2 separate regions of the Homo sapiens genome follow, and region 2 is linked to region 1. Evidence: promoter capture Hi-C in 16 types of primary human blood cells and fetal thymus (Javierre and others, 2016). All regions are on one chromosome and are shown on one strand. Each heading gives the region's core, a stretch centred on a gene start or on the middle of the fragment in contact. The rest is flanking DNA. Distances are from core to core; before and after follow the strand shown.

Region 1 (2,700 bases), core at 119-2,618:
GCACAGCAGGCCTGGGACAGAGTGAGGGCCCCCCATCTATCACAATACCTTATTTTGCAGATGCAGGATTCACTTGTCCCAGGTCACCCACAAGCTCTGATGCCTTGACCAGCTCCCCTCTGCCCTACCAAAGGACAAATGAGGGAGGCTTCGATGGGGCTGTTAATGGGGTCATATCCCACAGACCCTAGAGCCTGGGTGGGGCTGAGAGGCTTCCCAAGCAGGTGGCAGTGAGCTCCCACCTGAGCTATGGCAAGTAGAGACCTAGGCATGAAATTGCTCCGAGGTCTGTACCTTAAGTTTCATGCAAGGACTCTCTCATTCAACATGCCTCTGTTTAAAGTCTGCCAGTGGCTACCTTCCTTGCACTAGAATTGCAAACAAATTCCTCACTGAGCTCTCTGCAGCCCTGCAGGCTCTGGCCCTCCCGATATGGCTCTGACTTCAATGTGCCCATTACTTGTCCCCTTGCTGACGGCCTCCTCACAATTCCACTTACTCACCAAGTTCTCTCCTGCCTCAGGACCTTTGCACTTGATGTTCTTTCTGCCAATGATGCTCTTCCCAGGAGGGCAGGCCCCTGTAGTCCCAGCTACTCAGAAGGCTGAGGTGGGAGGACTGTTTGAGGCCAGGAATTCAAGTTCGGCCTGGGCAACACAGCAAGACCCTGCCTCTAAAAGAACAAAATGCTCTTCCCAGACTCTACCCATGGCGGTTCCTCTTGCTATTTAGATCTTTGCACAGACAGGCCTCCTTCTCTCTCCCCCAGCCAAGGAGCCCTAGCCGTCACTTCACCTGCTAATTTTCGTCCTAGCACTTACTGCTCTAAAATTATCTTCGTCATGTATCTAAGCATTTGTTTGCTGTCTGTCTCTTCCCACCAGGATGCCAGCTCCACGACAGCAGGGACCGCATTGTCTCTGCTGATTCCTCAAGACTCAGCAAGGTGCCAGGTGCCCAGTAAATGAAGTTTACATGAAGCCAATGGAGTTTTGAAATCGAAAATGTTTCTCAAACTGCAAAGAAGTGGGCACAGGTGAGGGCTAATGGTGGGGTGAGGGTGGGGGCCTGGCCTGACGCTGGAAGCTCCTGTACGCAGGGCGCTAGTGTCCTCCCAGGCCGCACCGGGATCCCACCGCAGAGGCCCCCTCCCGCAGGCCGGCCAGCGGGCGGGGGGCGCGCAGTGGGGCGCGCGGACCGCCAGGGGGTGCTGTCGGGGCGCGCACGGCCCACCTGGCGCCCGGGGCCGCGAGCGAGCGCAGCCAGGCCGCCCGGGAACTTTTTTCCTCGCGCTCTTGCTCTCCTTCTCCCCCCGCGCGTCGCCCGCCCGCCCGTCCGCTCGTCCGCTCTTCCTGTGCGGAGGGGATCGCATTCCTCGCGGCACCCGCGGACACCAGGCAGGCCCGGCCGGGTGCGCGGCCAAGGCCCGCTCCCCGCGTCCCCGGGCGCCGCCCCCGCCCGCGGCTGGGCTCCGAGAGACGAGTGGGAGAGCGAGTGCAGCGAGGGCGAGAGGCGAGCCGAGCAGGCCGCCCTGCCCGCGGCCCTAGCGCCGGCGCGAGGAGGGGGCGCCGCGGCCCACCCTCCTTCCTGCCTGGCCGCGGGCCGGCCGGGCCGCCGCGCCCCGACCCCCATGGCCACCCAGGCCTCCGGGCCGCGAAGTCGCAGCGCCAGACCCAAGGCCCCCGAGTGAGCGCGGGCGCCGAGGTGAGCAGCGAGCGCCGGGGCGCGGGGGGCGCAGTGTATCCTGCCCCGGGGCGGGGGCGGCGCGAGGCGTCGGGATCCTAGGCCGGGTGATGAGCCGAGGCGGGTTCGGACGCCGAGCGCGCGCGCTGGGTGGAGATGTGGGGTCCGCGGGGTCCTTGCTTTGTGTGGTGTGGGGGGTGCGCGAGGTCACCGGATGGACGTCTGGGGAGCTGCAGGGTGGGGGCGCCCTGCGCCGCGGCTGAGGGTCTTCTGGGGGATGTGCGGCCAGCTGAGGTCGGGTGGGGGCATGGGGGCGCGAGGGGCGAGTGTGGCAAGGGATCTGCTTGCGCCGAGGCGCGGAGTCTTTGCGGAGCGTGGGGTGGGGACGTGGGGTGCATTCGCGGGGCGCCGGGGGCGGAGGTGAGCTTTGTGAGTGCGTCCGAGGTGGGGGACGGGGAGCTGACTTCCCCATGCGTGACCCGGGCCCGGCGTGGCCATCGCTTGGGAGTCAGGGCCGGCGAAGGCCGTGCGTGGCGAGATGGGTGCTCGGGCTCTCTGCGGTGTCCCTACCCGGGCAGCGGCCCCGGGGCCTGTGCGCAGGCCCCGAGGCCGGGCAGGAAGCGGCCCCCGCGACCTGGGGAGCTCTGTAGCGGCCAGGCCCGGGAGGCACGGGCCCTTCGGGGATGACGTCACGGGCGGGGGCCCCGGACACGCGAGCCTTGCGCCCCACAGACGGCGGCGCAGCCCGCCGCCCTTTTCGAGGCCGGCCCCCCCTCTCACGCGCCTTGAAGGCAGGGAACCCGGGAGGAGGACATGGGGGCCGAGTGCGGCGGGGACAAGGGGTGGCAGGACGCGAGGGTGACATTTGGAGCCTGGTCGCGCCAGGGGCCTCCGTGGTGGGGCGGAGGGGAAGCGAAACACCAGCCAGGCCCTAGGCCGTCGCGGCCCCAGCTTCCTGGGGCGCCCGTTTTCCCGGCTAGCAGTTTTCTTTCTTGGGGCTCTTGGTCGTTATCCAGT
Region 2 (2,700 bases), core at 32-2,531, 260 kb after region 1:
ATGCCACCAAGAGCAGAGACCTCCCTCTGTGTTACTCCCTCTCACCCAGCGTGGTGCAATGGGAAGAGGAGAGGACCCAGGACTACAGGTAGAAATGAGAGGGAGGCAGTTAGATCCAATTAAGCAAGTCATTTTCATTTAACTGGAGAAGAGACCAACGTGGGATGTGCTGCCTATGAGATAATGAGTTTTCCATTACTGGAGGTATACAAGTCTGGGCGGGTAGCCACCTGGCAGGACGTTCTAGAAGGGGTGCCTGCTGTGCCTAAGACCTTGCCCTCAGCAACCCAGAGAGCTCCTTCTACCTCTTAGACCCTTGGTGCCTTTGATTTCACTGCAGTGGCCTGAAGCTGCCTTCTTCACTGGTAACATAAGGCTGACAACAGTCCCGCTCTGACTAGGATGTTCTATATAATAAATGACTACCAGGAGAGGCACTGGGGAGGAATACAGGAGCCACTCAATCCTCCACTAGAGAATGGAGTGACGACGTGCTCTGGAAAAAGCCAATGAGACTCAAGATAGGCATGAGGTTACAAATCTCTCCAGATTCCACTTCTACCCACATACTCATAAATGCACAGGGACGCAACCCAGCAGGCAGATAGTCACAAACCAATACTACCTAACCTTTACTGACTTATAATATCCTACATGCCTTAACTCATTACTTTATTTAATCCTCACCATGAGGCAAAGGTTGAAAGGGTTTTTTTTTTTTTTTAATATTTTGTAAAGAGGTCTTGCTAAAGTGACCGCCCCACCTTGGCCTCCTAAAGTACTGGGATTATAAGCATTAGCCACCACACCCGGTCTAGGTCGAAACTTATAATTCTCACTTTCTATACACTGGGGTGGGGCCGCCCAGAGAAGCTAAATGACTTGCCCAGACACACACACAGCAAGCAGTGGCACCTGGACTAGAATTCCATTCTGTCTGACCTCTGAACCCAAGTGTTTCACCAATAAGTTATAATGCAGCTACTCAGTAATGGGATGAAAAGGATAAAATGAAGAACCTTGATATACAGACAGCCTCTAAGTAATTTGTTTCTACCCATTACTGAAGTATCTTCCATCTGAATTAAACCTTTGCAAAGAGAGGCCAGCCCTCTCTAGTGTGACTTTCTCTCCCTAACAGTGCCTAACTTTTGGTGTTGAGACGAATACCAGGCAAAAAGTTGGCAGCTGGCTTTTAGAGTTGAAAAGAACCTTAACTTTCATCTGATGGGAGGCCTCCCAGATGGGCTGTGCCCAGCCACTGCCCACAGTCACCTCACTGTACTTGTGATAGACCTTAGCAGATTCTATTCAGTCTTAAAAAATATATGACATTATGAGACAACTAAAAATTTTGAACACTAGTTGGATACATGATAGGAAATTACATTTTAAAAGTACAATCACAGTATTGTGATTGTTTCTAAAATGAGTCATTTTCTTTTAGAGATACATATTGAAATATATGCTGAAATAATATGATTTGGGGGACTTACTTCAAAATAATATGGGCAGGGTATGCATATTGACAAAATCTAATAGGTCATGAGTTGATAATTGTTGAAGTTCTATAAAGGGTTTGTAGAAGTTCATTATACTATTCTACTTTTGCATGTTTAAAATTTTCTATAACACAAAGTTTAAAAAGTAAATTTGAAGATAAAATTGACACATTCAATATTCTTAGAGAAAAGTTAAACATAGGGCAGAGATTATAAATGTAATGAAAGTATAAGTAAGGGAAAGATTCAAACTCAATAAACACATTTGTTGAGTCCCCATTATGTAGGAGGCTCTGTAGTAGCCTCTACTTCCTCATCTATAAAATGGAAGTGTTAAGAATTCTGCTTTGGGCCAGGTGTGGTGGCTCATGCCTGTAAATCCTAGCACTCTGGGAGGCCAAGTCGGGAGGATCACTTGAGGTCAGGAGTTCAAGACCAGCCTGGCCAACATGGTGAAACCTCATCTCTACTAAAAATACAAAAACTAGCCAGGTGTGGTGGCGGGTGCCTGTAATCCCAGCTGCCTGAGAGGCTGAAGCATGAGAATCACTTGAACCCAGGAGGCGGAGGTCGCAGTGAGCTGAGATCACGCCTCTGCATTCCAGGCTGGGCGACAGAGCAAGACTCTATCTCAAAAAAAAAAAAAAAAAAAAAAAAAAGGAAGAAGAGTTCTGCTGCATAGGGTTGTTACTCAGATGAGATGAGCTTATACGGGTCAAGCACTGATAAGAGTGGCTGGCATATAGCAAGAGTAATCAATAATTGGTAGCTTTATACAACCCTATGCAATAAATACTATTAGAATCATTTTACAGATGAGGAAGATGAGGCTCAGAAAAGTATGATAACTTGTCCAAAAAGTCATGCTGCCAATATGAGGGAGAATTTGAATTTCAGAGTCAGCACTGCCCCCACCCAGCTCAGGGATGGACTCTGGCATGCCATAGCCAGGAGAGAGTCCTGTGGGTGCAGAGCATGGAGAAGTCAGGCTTTCAGGGAAGAAATGAGCTGTGACTCCTGAACAAAGAGCAGGAATAAGGTAAGCCTGAAAGAATGAAGGAAGAAAAGCACTCAAGACCCTCAGCAATGCCATTCCGATGAAGTTCAAGGCAAATTCTTTTCCTAATTAAAGGCTGGTCTCCACAGCTGTCATTGGGGTGACCTCGCTAATTCAAATAAATAGCCACAGGGTTTCAAA

What was found. The method cuts DNA at HindIII sites, captures the fragments that hold promoters and counts their contacts. A CHiCAGO score of 5 or more calls a contact.
Region 2: a fragment that was not itself captured here is called in contact with the fragment with the promoter of RAI1 in region 1 in 2 of 17 cell types (total CD8 T cells and naive CD4 T cells); the score reaches 6.6 in total CD8 T cells.

What each region holds. Positions count from the first base shown.
Region 1 is chr17:17,680,090-17,682,789 of GRCh38, forward strand. It overlaps RAI1 (retinoic acid induced 1), which reads left to right and starts at 1,369. Exons shown (of 6, transcript NM_030665.4): 1 at 1,369-1,704. RefSeq lists silencers at 1,090-1,599, 1,630-1,769, 1,830-1,909, 1,921-2,093, 2,080-2,700 and an enhancer at 1,410-2,011. The HindIII fragment of the contact is 10,976 bases long and covers 1-2,700 here.
Region 2 is chr17:17,938,058-17,940,757 of GRCh38, forward strand. The region is part of intron 1 of TOM1L2 (target of myb1 like 2 membrane trafficking protein); the gene reads right to left. Among named protein-coding and RNA genes, the nearest start is that of TOM1L2, 33 kb to the right of the region's middle. RefSeq lists an enhancer at 873-962. The HindIII fragment of the contact is 2,943 bases long and covers 1-2,700 here.